2 separate regions of the Homo sapiens genome follow, and region 2 is linked to region 1. The links are contacts of gene promoters, found by promoter capture Hi-C in blood cells and fetal thymus (Javierre and others, 2016). All regions are on one chromosome and are shown on one strand. Each heading gives the region's core, a stretch centred on a gene start or on the middle of the fragment in contact. The rest is flanking DNA. Distances are from core to core; before and after follow the strand shown. Region 1 holds the start of USP53 (ubiquitin specific peptidase 53). Region 2 overlaps CCNA2 (cyclin A2).

What was found. Contacts are between HindIII fragments. The CHiCAGO score rates a contact against its expected background, and 5 or more counts as called.
Region 2: a fragment that was not itself captured here is called in contact with the fragment with the promoter of USP53 in region 1 in 1 of 17 cell types (non-activated CD4 T cells); the score reaches 6.1 in non-activated CD4 T cells.

What each region holds. Positions count from the first base shown.
Region 1 is chr4:119,207,914-119,213,962 of GRCh38, reverse strand. It overlaps USP53 (ubiquitin specific peptidase 53), which reads right to left and starts at 1,250. Exons shown (of 19, transcript NM_001371395.1): 1 at 1,090-1,250. LOC101929762 (a long non-coding RNA gene) reads left to right here and starts at 1,319. Exons shown (of 3, transcript NR_125931.1): 1 at 1,319-1,436. RefSeq lists enhancers at 856-905, 611-1,184, 1,516-1,635, 1,758-2,332, 3,488-4,687 and a silencer at 1,256-1,385. The HindIII fragment of the contact is 14,070 bases long and covers 1-5,962 here.
Region 2 is chr4:121,817,108-121,822,900 of GRCh38, reverse strand. CCNA2 (cyclin A2) reads left to right here. Exons shown (of 8, transcript NM_001237.5): 2 at 255-498; 3 at 1,810-1,922; 4 at 2,136-2,359; 5 at 3,322-3,529; 6 at 3,988-4,101; 7 at 4,724-4,857; 8 at 5,215-5,793. The coding sequence ends at 5,263. Among named protein-coding and RNA genes, the nearest start is that of CCNA2, 3.9 kb to the left of the region's middle. The HindIII fragment of the contact is 1,215 bases long and covers 3,277-4,491 here.

The DNA.
Region 1 (6,049 bases), core at 1-2,500:
CCTTTTCTTTTAATAACTAAAAGTGAATCAGATCTTAATCACAAAAACCTTCCTAAGTGTACTGCGTTTTTTTGTTTGTTTGTTTGTTTTTTGGAGACGGAGTCTGGCTCTGTCGCCCCTGCTGGAATGCAGTGGCGCGATCTCGGCTCACTGCAACCTCCGGTTCAAGCAATTCTCCTGCCTCAGCCTCCCGAGTAGCTGGGACTACAGGTTAAGTTTACTATTAAACCTACCTCAAAAATAGCCTTAGATATTCTTTGCAAATATATATATTTATACATACATACATACACACACACACATATATATATATATATATATCTATTTCCAGATAAGGAAACTTTCGGAAAACTTTGCTGTCCAACTGGTAATTCCCTGCATACTTTGCATTGATAAAGAAAACCTTGTAGCAGGGTTACAAACCTCAAAACATCCTCAGATTGCAGGTTTTAGAAACCCTCCCTATTACACCTGTGCAAGTACTTCCTGTTCTCCAACACTGTTTAAAAATAGTTTGGTAAATGCCCCGTAAGCCGCCCTTTAGAAGCTAAACATTAACTTTATATACATCACCACTACCACTGAGAAACCACCACCCCAAGAATCTCACGAGTCCAGTCATCTCTCTTCTCCAAGGAGGGAGCATAACCATCCTGGACCCCTTTAAGTAAAAAACTGTGTGCTCAGGCGAGGCAATGTGGCTTGGACAGCCAGGGGCAGGAGCCAAGTAAGGGTATTACTCACAATCCCAGCAGGACTCCAGCTTGTCGCCGCCCTCAAACACGGCAGCAATAACATCCAGGACCCAACAAGTACAGCACCTCCTCCCGCCTCGCGAGCGCCTCCAGCCTGGCCAGAGGCATCTCCGCCAGACGCGGCGAGAAGGGGCGAAAGGGCTGCGTGACCTCTGGCGTCTGAACCGCCCAGCAAAGAGAGTGTGTGTGTGCCCAGAGGGCCGGGGCCATAGGAGGTCGCCGGGCTGCGAGGGGAGAGACGAGCTCTGGGGCTAGAATGAGAGTGTCCCGGTCAGGCCCGCGGGGGTCGCAGGTCTCTGGATCTCCAACCAGAGGGCTAGTTTCGGAGACTTACCTTGAGCTCTACCCTCCTTGCGCGAGGAGCGTGCGGTCCAGGTAGAGAAATACAGGCCTTCCACTCCCACAGAGCTACCTCCCGCTGGCCCAGCCCCGCTTCACGCCGACACCCGCCAGACACACTGACTGCTGCCACAGTACCGAGGCTCACCGGGAACTGGAGCACAGGCGGCTGGTCTCCGCCGCCCAGAGCCCGACCCTGTGAGCGGAGCATGCGCATACGCCCCAATACCCAGGGACCAGTCAGGCCAGTGACACCTGCGATCAACAGGTCCCTGGAGCCCCGCCCCTCTCCCCGCCTCGAGCCCGCCCCTCGGAGCGGGCTCCGCCTTCACGCTCACCGAGGTAACTCCGCCTCCGCTCGCGATTTCCCGGCTTTCTGGACCTGCGGAATTCTATTCCCGCGGGGATTTGATGGCGTGCGCGATACAGTTGGCTTCCTCGGAGGCGCGAGATCGCGCGAGACCAAGAGATAGAACATTTCTGCAAAAGCGGCAGCTTGGCGCTGGAGTTTGGTTGTTGGGGGAAAGGTGGTTGTAGGACGTGCTGTCTGGTGTGGTGAGAAAGAGGCTAGTTCTTCAGGAGGAGGCGATTATTCTGGTGCTCTTGGTAGTTCATTCGGTATTTTCTAAGCTCAAGAACGCGGATCCACCAAGGACTTCACTTAGGTTAGGTGTTACCTGAGAGAACAATCCGTAGTTTGGCATCAGAACCCCATGCGGACACGCAGTTTCCTTTAGATTTCCGTGAGTCGTTAGACGATCTATTTGCAGTTAAATGGCTTCCTGTGGCGTGAATGTGTATTCCCCAAGCAGTTGTTTCTTGCCTTTAATTAGATAGCTTTAATAAGTCTGTTGACCTGGTTAATGATTGTCAGAAAAGTCTGTCCGCCTCTTTGCCGTGCTTTCGAACAGGTTTTAAGTTAAAAGGTACTGCTGGGAATTGGGCTAAACTTTGATTTTGAATAAACCTTTCTTAGGAATAGTAGTAAAGGAAAAACCCATCGTCACTGATACCGAATATCTCTCAAGTAAATAAAGAAGGTTTTGGAACTCATTCCAAAGCTGGTGTAAGTTGAACATACTAATTGTAAAAATGGATTTCAGTAAACCCAGAGGCACTTCTAAAAGTTTATTTGAAGAAAGAGGGGGAAGAAATATTGGTCGTTGATACAGGAGACAAATAGGACCCGTTTGTAATGTCTGAGGCTGAATCATTAAGAATTTATTGAGCATTTACTATGTTCCCTTTACTGAACTAGGCACTGTCAGAAATAGGATGAAATAAAGCCGTGGTTTCTGCCCTCAAAATATTAAAAACTTTGGGAGGGGTGGGGGAAAAAAAGATCCTACTCTGCATTTTTAAAACAATAAGAGCACACCATTAACTCTTCCCTCCGTTTCTCTAATGTCATTTTCTCCTCATTCTGCAGCTACTTTTCTGGTGCACTTTAAATACTGTTTTTCCGCTGCGTGGTCTCTGTTCGCCAGCACTCCATTTTCTTTTGCTGTTTCTGTTTAATGTTAATCCATGTCTCCTTGAGCAGTCTCTTTCCCATCATGGATTTACCTACCACGTGTCCTGTGCACCAAGAACTCTCAGGTGTATATCTATACGTCGGACATTTTTAAGCAACATCCTTTGGATTTCACACAGTATCTTAAATATGTCCCAAATTGACATGGACATCTTTACTATAATCTGTTCCTGATGCCATGTCCCTCTTCACCCATCTGGAACCTACACCATTTCCATTCCCTGTTTCAGAAAATGACACGCAACTGCCCAAGTCAGAAATCTATGAGTACCCCTGTTACTTTTCCTTCATTTCCTCTTTTCTAATATCAAATTTTGACTCTTATTTCCTTAAGTATCTCTCAGGTCCACCCCTCCACTCTCACTGTCTTAGTCCTTCAAGTAATCACCATCTCTTATGACTCATCTTCCTTGTACTATTGCAATATTCACAAGATATCCTCTAGTTATTTCCCACACCAGTCCAACCTCCATTCTATTAATAATTTTTCTAACGTGAAAATACGATCATTATACTTCTCTGCTAAGAATTTTTCATTACCCACCGGCAGGGCCTTTCATGATCACACTGTTAAACTCATCGCCATTCTTCCTCCAGTTCCTCCACATTAATCTTTCTAAAGTCCTTGCTTTCTATGTTCTTGGTTCTCTCAAGATCCTTTGGTTCTCTCTCGAATGCTTATCTCCATGGATCTTTTCATAACTTTCTGAGACAAAATTGTCATCCCTTTTGGGACTTATTTTTATAACAATTATGTTGTACTATATTTATTTCTCTGCAAATGTACCTGACAGAGTAACCCCCACCTCCACCCTTGAGAAATAATTTGAACTGTGGATAATAATGGCTTATACTACCTCCCTTCCTTATTTAGCAATTACAGAAGAATACCCTTCAGTTCACCCTGCTCAAGAATTTGACTAAACCCTGACTATACACTTTTAAAATTATATAATTTCATACTTTCTACCAGTTTTTAGCATATCTATGTACCGATCCTTAAATGGTAGAGTTGTAATAGGACCCAATTTAAGCATCAAGAGGGCAGAGTCTGAAGCAAACATGAAAAAATGGAAAATTGACATTGCAGGACAGCTGTTGCTCCCAGAAAATTTGTAATTGGGAAAGTCACAACAAGGATTTAAAATATTTTAATTCTTACTATTTGTCCTTGAGGGACGTGTGTGGGTTTGATTCCCTAGTTTCTGATTGGCTGGACCCAAATTTGTGAAGACCAATCTCTGCACCTCACACAGGCAAAGAGATCATGAAAGGGAGCAGGCTTGGCATGCCAAAGAATACCCTAGATCATTCAGCTGAGGCTTAGCCAAAGTTCACACCACCAGCACATATACACACCTCTTAGTGTTATTCTGGATTGATTATAACTCAGACTTTGAGAAATGTGCTACCCTGTGGCTAGATGCACCCTGCCACTAATGTCTGGTAGGAATAGCAACATTGTGTCCTGCGGAGCTGTAACCCAGTAGTTCCAGGAGGTAATCAACAGCTTAACCATGACTGAGCTGGGTGGGGTAGAGTGAAATATAGCATAGGGAAGTAGTAGATCAATGACTGACTCAGGGTTAGATACTAGACAGAATCCTTTTTTTCCTAAATGCATCCATAAGGACTGACAAGTGAATTTCCTTACTACCTAAGCTCTCTGTTTTTTCATGTTTCCAAGGCATAGCACAGTGCCTAGCACAGATGCTTAACAAGCAGTGTTTATTGGATGGAGTAAAAATTGGAAGTTTTGTTGATTTTTTTGAATAGAGTCATCTGTGTGGGCTAAAGTTGGAGAGGGCTTCTGTGGGAGATCAAATATGAACTTCAGCTTGGAAGGATTATAAGCAAGTGTATTTGAAGGCATTGAGGAAGATATGTAACTTAAAAGAGCAAAGTTTTAGAAACAGGATTGAACAAGGCCAGTACAGGACTACAATGGGAAGCCTTTGTAAGTTCTGGGGCAGAATGATTCATTTGGAATAAGGTACAGAAGAACTGTAGGGGAAACTATAGCTAGGCAAGAAGAGAAATCTCTAGGCTGTGACTCAGGGATGAGTCAACCAGAAAAATCTAGTCACAATTGACCACTCCCTCCTTGACATCTTCATCTCAATTCTTGTGACATCATTCCTTTATGGCTTTCATCCTGCCTCATGGGCTTCTCTTTCTCAGCCTCCTTTTCTCTTGTACTTTTCAATCTGCTTTAAATGTTGATGTGCCTTAGTGCCTGATCCTGAGATGTCATTTATCCTCATGGTTTTAAATCTATTTCCCACACAGCAGCCAATTAGTCTTTTAAAAATATTGACATGTTACTCCCCAACTTAAATTGTTCAATGACTTTTCATTCACATAGAATAAAATCCAAAATTCTTGCCAAGGCCTATAGACCCCTGAATGATCTGTTCCTGCTTCCGCAACAACATCTCATGCTGTTCAAGGCTTTGCATTCTCTATTCTCTATGTCTGGAAGACTAGTTCTAAACTGGGGGTGGTTTTCTCTCCCATGGACATTTGGCAATGGTTGGAAACATTTTTGGTTGTCACAGTTGCGGGCAGGGATGCTGCTAAACATCCTACAATGGACAAGACAGTCTCCCACAACAAAGAATTATCTAGTCCCCAATGTCAGTAGGATCAAGGTTGAGAATTACTGGCCTAGAACATTCTTCCCATGGGTCTCTAAGTGATTGCTATAGTAATGTGCCTTGTCATTGAAAGTAGCTGGTCTGAACGAGTAAGGCACAGATGAAGTGGGAAGGAGAGAGAGAGTTCCTGAGGATCCTCTCTCCTCTTACAAGGAATTCTGGACTTCAGTATTTACTGGATTCCTAAAGCTCTGCAGCATGACATTTTGTTAAACACTGGAAGTTCAAATTCAATATCCATGATATCTTAGCTAGCTCTTACTTGGCTGAAACTTTTCTGGCCATCCATCCCAGACCTTCTAAGGCTCTGCCATAACAAGGTCAACATTTGCTAGTAAATCACTGCTAGTGGTTTAACTAGTGGCCTCTTTAATTTTTGCTGACTTAGGGTCAGCGTAGGCAATTTCATTACCCTTGTATGTTATTTCACATTGAAACATTCTAATTTTCTTATCATTAAAATTGGGGTGAGAAGAAATACTTATACAAATATCTTTTTATAAGGCCCTAGATAAAAGCAACTGTAAAGTCCCACACTAGGTTATGATGGCCATTAGTGCCATTATTATGATTACTAATGCTGATTACTAAAAAAAAAAAAAATGTTCTTATAGAATCCCATTATCATTGATGACAATGATATGTATTTAATTAAAATCTCAAAAGTACAGAAAGCTTTAGATTTCATCTGGTCCAGCCTCCCACTCAATGGAGGATCATCCTCACCAGTGGGCTATCAGCTTCTGTTCAAATATGGTAACAGT
Region 2 (5,793 bases), core at 2,635-5,134, 2.6 Mb before region 1:
GGCCTGTCACCCGACCCTTCTTGTGGCCCTGATAAGTTTTGCATAATTCCACCTAGTGTTATCTATTGATAGCCTTTGTGGGAATGCCTGTGACAAATGGGAACATCCCTTCTCTTTTGAATACTGAAACTCTTCTTTGTCCCAGAAAGTTTAATTCCTGATAGAGTATTTGGGAGAAAAAGCAAAGGCCAACACCCATAAGAGAAAGAATGCAAGACTAGTAGGCTCAAAGCCAGTTATTAATTTTTTTTTAGGTTGCACCCCTTAAGGATCTTCCTGTAAATGATGAGCATGTCACCGTTCCTCCTTGGAAAGCAAACAGTAAACAGCCTGCGTTCACCATTCATGTGGATGAAGCAGAAAAAGAAGCTCAGAAGAAGCCAGCTGAATCTCAAAAAATAGAGCGTGAAGATGCCCTGGCTTTTAATTCAGCCATTAGTTTACCTGGACCCAGAAAACCATTGGTCCCTCTTGATTATCCAATGGATGGTAGTTTTGGTAAGTTTTAAGGAAAATCTGTGTGGAATTACGGTAATTATAATTATTAGATGATATTAATGATTTGCATTTTAAGATGTCTTATGTAGTCATTTTGACTATAGTGAGTTAGGTTTAATGTAACAAGGCTTAGAAAGGATGTGACTTATCTCAGATCTCACAGCTAACACTTGACTTGGTGACATACAAAAAGATCCTTATCCAGTGCTCTTTCAGGTTCACTGCCAGTCACATCAATCTAATTATAATTAGATCTTAAATGCTTATTTTAATCTGATCCCATAAATGTGTTCTTGGTTGGGAGAATAGATTTCAGTTTTATTTAACTCACTTATATATCACTTAGTGCTATTTGAAGATGCAGTCTTAAATATTGTGATTACATAACGTCTCTTCCAGTTTTATAATTTTGTTTCTATAAAACCAGTCTGGATTAGCATCTGATACCAGAAAGTGACACTTTTCCTCCTACAAGTAAATAGTTGTACCATGGCTGTTTACTCTTACCCATGTATTAAAGTAGCTTCTGTAAACAGCTCTTTGCAGTTTGTACTATTTCTTTGCCCTAGGGATATTGAGTCACTGGACAGCTCACTAAATCCAATCTCATTTTAGTTTTAGTTGTATTGATTGTGAGGAAGGAGGGGTGAGCAGGAAAAGTCCTTTGGAAATAATAATTTGTGTGTTTTTATCAAAATTTTGCAGAAAATGTTTAATCTCAAGGTGATCTTTGAAGTGAAAGGAATAATGGATGATACTCTTTGCTTCAAAATAATTTATACTACAAAAAATAAATTATTTATAGTGTTAATCCATTTGCCCATAACAAACCTAATTTCTTAATAACACTTGTTAATAGAGGCCATTTAACTGATGCTAGCTATTGCCTACTTGTGCTTTATATATGTCAGACTCTGGGATCTGCAGTTTCTCTTGGGACAAATCTTAGATATTATCTCAAAACTTGGATTTTAAAAGTGTTCTGTCCTAACAGAACCACCATGCCATTTGCTCCTTTCTGTTGTGGAAGATGGATACTTTAAGATAATACCTGATTCTCATTTTCCTGTTAGGGGCCTACCAATATGTTTTTTTTTTTTTCCCTCATTAACTAAAATCATTCCAAAGTTCTATGTACAGAGATACTGAGACTAGGGTAAAATATTCTACATATTTTGTCATGAGAAGCTCTTTTTAGTTTGAAGAAATAAGTGCTTTGTTAATATGAGATTCCTTCCATGGCAGTCATTTTTAGCTATTAAACTAAATAGGCAAACAATTAATTTAATCATATCTTTTGAATTGTCCCAGAGTCACCACATACTATGGACATGTCAATTATATTAGAAGATGAAAAGCCAGTGAGTGTTAATGAAGTACCAGACTACCATGAGGATATTCACACATACCTTAGGGAAATGGAGGTAAAGGTTCTCTGAATCCAGTTTGTATAATGTATTTGTTAAATGTGGCTAAATGAAATTGAGAGGATAATGTTTAAATTTTTAAACTAATGAATTATTCTAATGCTACAGTTAAGTTTATAGCATGTAGCCTCTCGTAATTAATGGTAAAATAATCTAATTGCAGTTTTTACACTAGAATAATTTTAACACTATAAATAATTTTCTCAATAGGTTAAATGTAAACCTAAAGTGGGTTACATGAAGAAACAGCCAGACATCACTAACAGTATGAGAGCTATCCTCGTGGACTGGTTAGTTGAAGTAGGAGAAGAATATAAACTACAGAATGAGACCCTGCATTTGGCTGTGAACTACATTGATAGGTTCCTGTCTTCCATGTCAGTGCTGAGAGGAAAACTTCAGCTTGTGGGCACTGCTGCTATGCTGTTAGCCTCGTAAGTCTACCTTGGTTTGTTTAAAAGTGATCACGACCTTTTGTCTAGGGAAGAAATTGATTTTTTTAATGGTGACCTTTTAACATACACCAGGCAGAGTCAGTGACTACTTTAGGGATGGCAATGTGCTGGGGCTTAGGGCAGTGGAGGAGGATGAAACTGTTCTAATCTAGAACACTAATTTTCCCCCAACTGGATTCCTTGAACATGATATAGTACACTAGGTTACAAATTTTAAAACATTTTCCTTCCAATATTACTTTCTGGCATATAAGCAGTGTCTCTTTTATTAAGAAGTAAAGGCTGGGTGCGGTGGCTCGCGCCTGTAATCCCAGCACTTTGGGAGGCCGAGGTGGGCGGATCACTTGAGGTCAGGAGTTTGAGACCAGCCTGGCCATCATGGCGAAACCCTGTCTCTACTAAAAATACAAAAATTAGCTGGGCATGGTGATGCATGCCTGTAATCTCAGCTACTAGGGAGGCTGAGGCAAGAGAATCGCTTGAACCCAGGAGGTGGAAGTTGCAGCGAGCTAAGATTGCACCACTGCACTCTGGCCTGGGCGACAGAGCAAGACTCTTGTCTCAAAAAAAAAAAAAAAAAAGAAAGAAAAACTAAATTTAAAAATGAAAACATGAAACATGTTTTCCTAAGACTTGTATTTCCTAAATTTTCAGCTACTTGGTGAACTCTGGCATTGTTCCCATCTCGAGAAGTCTCATGCCTTTCATTTACTTCCTTTGACTGAACTGGGGAAAATATCTCAAAAGTCCTTTATTGATTTGGGCCTTTTAATTAGCAATTAGCTATCCAGTCTCTACTAGAAATGATGATCAAGTGTCTGGAAATGCAGTTGGTGTGGATTTTGGATTCATTCCATATTCTGCTAATGGGATTTCAGAACTGGGATAAGGAAGCTTGCTTCTCTTTTAGGACTGATTACTTAAAACTTTTTTCATTGTAGAAAGTTTGAAGAAATATACCCCCCAGAAGTAGCAGAGTTTGTGTACATTACAGATGATACCTACACCAAGAAACAAGTTCTGAGAATGGAGCATCTAGTTTTGAAAGTCCTTACTTTTGACTTAGCTGCTCCAACAGTAAATCAGTTTCTTACCCAATACTTTCTGCATCAGCAGCCTGCAAACTGCAAAGTTGAAAGTTTAGCAATGGTGAGTTAACTTTCATTTTGTTGAATGGTGATTCTTTGGTAATAATTAGGGGTAAGCCCTAATTCCTTTGTAAAGGAACCTAGTTCCTTTGTACAGCAGTGGTGAAGAGATTTAGTATTCAGAGGGAGATTAATGCTGCAGTATGGAAGAAAGCCTACTGCTGGCAAAAGATAATCTATATCAGGAAAGCACTAGAAGCAGAGGTCTAAGGATGACATCTTGGGGATGGGTAGTCAGAAGAGTTGTTTTTTAAAAGTTAATAAAGGAGGGAAAATACAGGATGAGGATGGAACAAAACACTAAAATGATTGATATGTTTAAAGATGAGGCTGTGAGATATTTTTTCTAGAGTTGCTACAGAGCCGTTATCAAAGGCAGGAAAAAATTAGGTTAGAAGGCAGAGGTTTGACATTTGAATTCTAAACGCTCTTGTGATCATAAAGTATTTTTTATTCCAGTTTTTGGGAGAATTAAGTTTGATAGATGCTGACCCATACCTCAAGTATTTGCCATCAGTTATTGCTGGAGCTGCCTTTCATTTAGCACTCTACACAGTCACGGGACAAAGCTGGGTATGTATTACGGTCTTCACACACCTATCTTGTGACTGAAATGCCTGTGCCAGATTAAATAATAATTGTCCTACAAAACTGAGGGTTGCCTAGATGTTCTTACTTGGAAAAACTTCAAATATATATAGTTGACCTTTGAAAAACACAGGTTTGAACTGTGTGAGTCCACTTACACATGGATTTTTTTCCAATCAAATGTGGACTGAAACTACAGTATTCAGGGGATTCACAACCCATATATATGGAAGGGTGACTGCAGGACTTGAATATGTACAGATTTGGGTATATTTGGGAAGGGTCCTGGAACCAATCCCTCATGTACACTGAGGGATGATTATATACTGTTTAAGGCATGTTACCTGTTGAACAGTGTTTGTTAGGTAGTAAGCTTAGTTGTAACTTGGATTGAAAGGTGAGCTTTTTTAAAAGCATCTGACCTGTTGCTGGCAGGGAAAGTAGTAGAAAATGGATCGAGGGATGGAATAATGGCCTGAGAAAACTAGTAGTTGGAAAAGTTAAAGATTAGTACTGGAATTTAACATAAGCTTAATGCCAACTATTTACTGTGTTTGGTGTGTTACTAAAAGCAAAACTCAGGGGTTCTCTATTCCCTTCTCTGTAGCCTGAATCATTAATACGAAAGACTGGATATACCCTGGAAAGTCTTAAGCCTTGTCTCATGGACCTTCACCAGACCTACCTCAAAGCACCACAGCATGCACAACAGTCAATAAGAGAAAAGTACAAAAATTCAAAGTAAGAATTAACTTGGATATTGAAGCTTACTTTTCTAGATTATGGTTCAGAGATCTTTGACATTTTAACCTTATTCATGAATCTGCCATAGCCTCCTTGAGAAGCTGTTCTCTAAATTGGTTATGTGTTTGAAGAAGGTTGTAGTTCATGCTTTCTGCCCTGGGTCTGGGGGAGAAGAGAGAAGGAAGGGGGCATGCATGTGTGTTTCAGGGACCAGACAGTGTTTCTAAAACCATCAAGTCGGTCAGACAGAAATAGCATTTTTTAGTTCCCAATACATGAGTACAAACATTATTCCATGATCTCCTTTACCCAGTGAGTGTTTACTAAAAATGCTTTTTTTTTCCCTACTTACAGGTATCATGGTGTTTCTCTCCTCAACCCACCAGAGACACTAAATCTGTAACAATGAAAGACTGCCTTTGTTTTCTAAGATGTAAATCACTCAAAGTATATGGTGTACAGTTTTTAACTTAGGTTTTAATTTTACAATCATTTCTGAATACAGAAGTTGTGGCCAAGTACAAATTATGGTATCTATTACTTTTTAAATGGTTTTAATTTGTATATCTTTTGTATATGTATCTGTCTTAGATATTTGGCTAATTTTAAGTGGTTTTGTTAAAGTATTAATGATGCCAGCTGTCAGGATAATAAATTGATTTGGAAAACTTTGCAAGTCAAATTTAACTTCTTCAGGATTTTGCTTAGTAAAGAAGTTTACTTGGTTTACTATATAATGGGAAGTGAAAAGCCTTCCTCTAAAATTAAAGTAGGTTTAGGAAAACAGACCCTCAAATTCTGACATTCATTTTCCTAAGCAACTGGATCAATTTGCTGACTTGGGCATAATCTAATCTAAGCATATCTGAATACAGTATTCAGAGATAGATACAGTAGAGATTCCCCAGACTTTTTCGCTCTTTGTAAAACCTG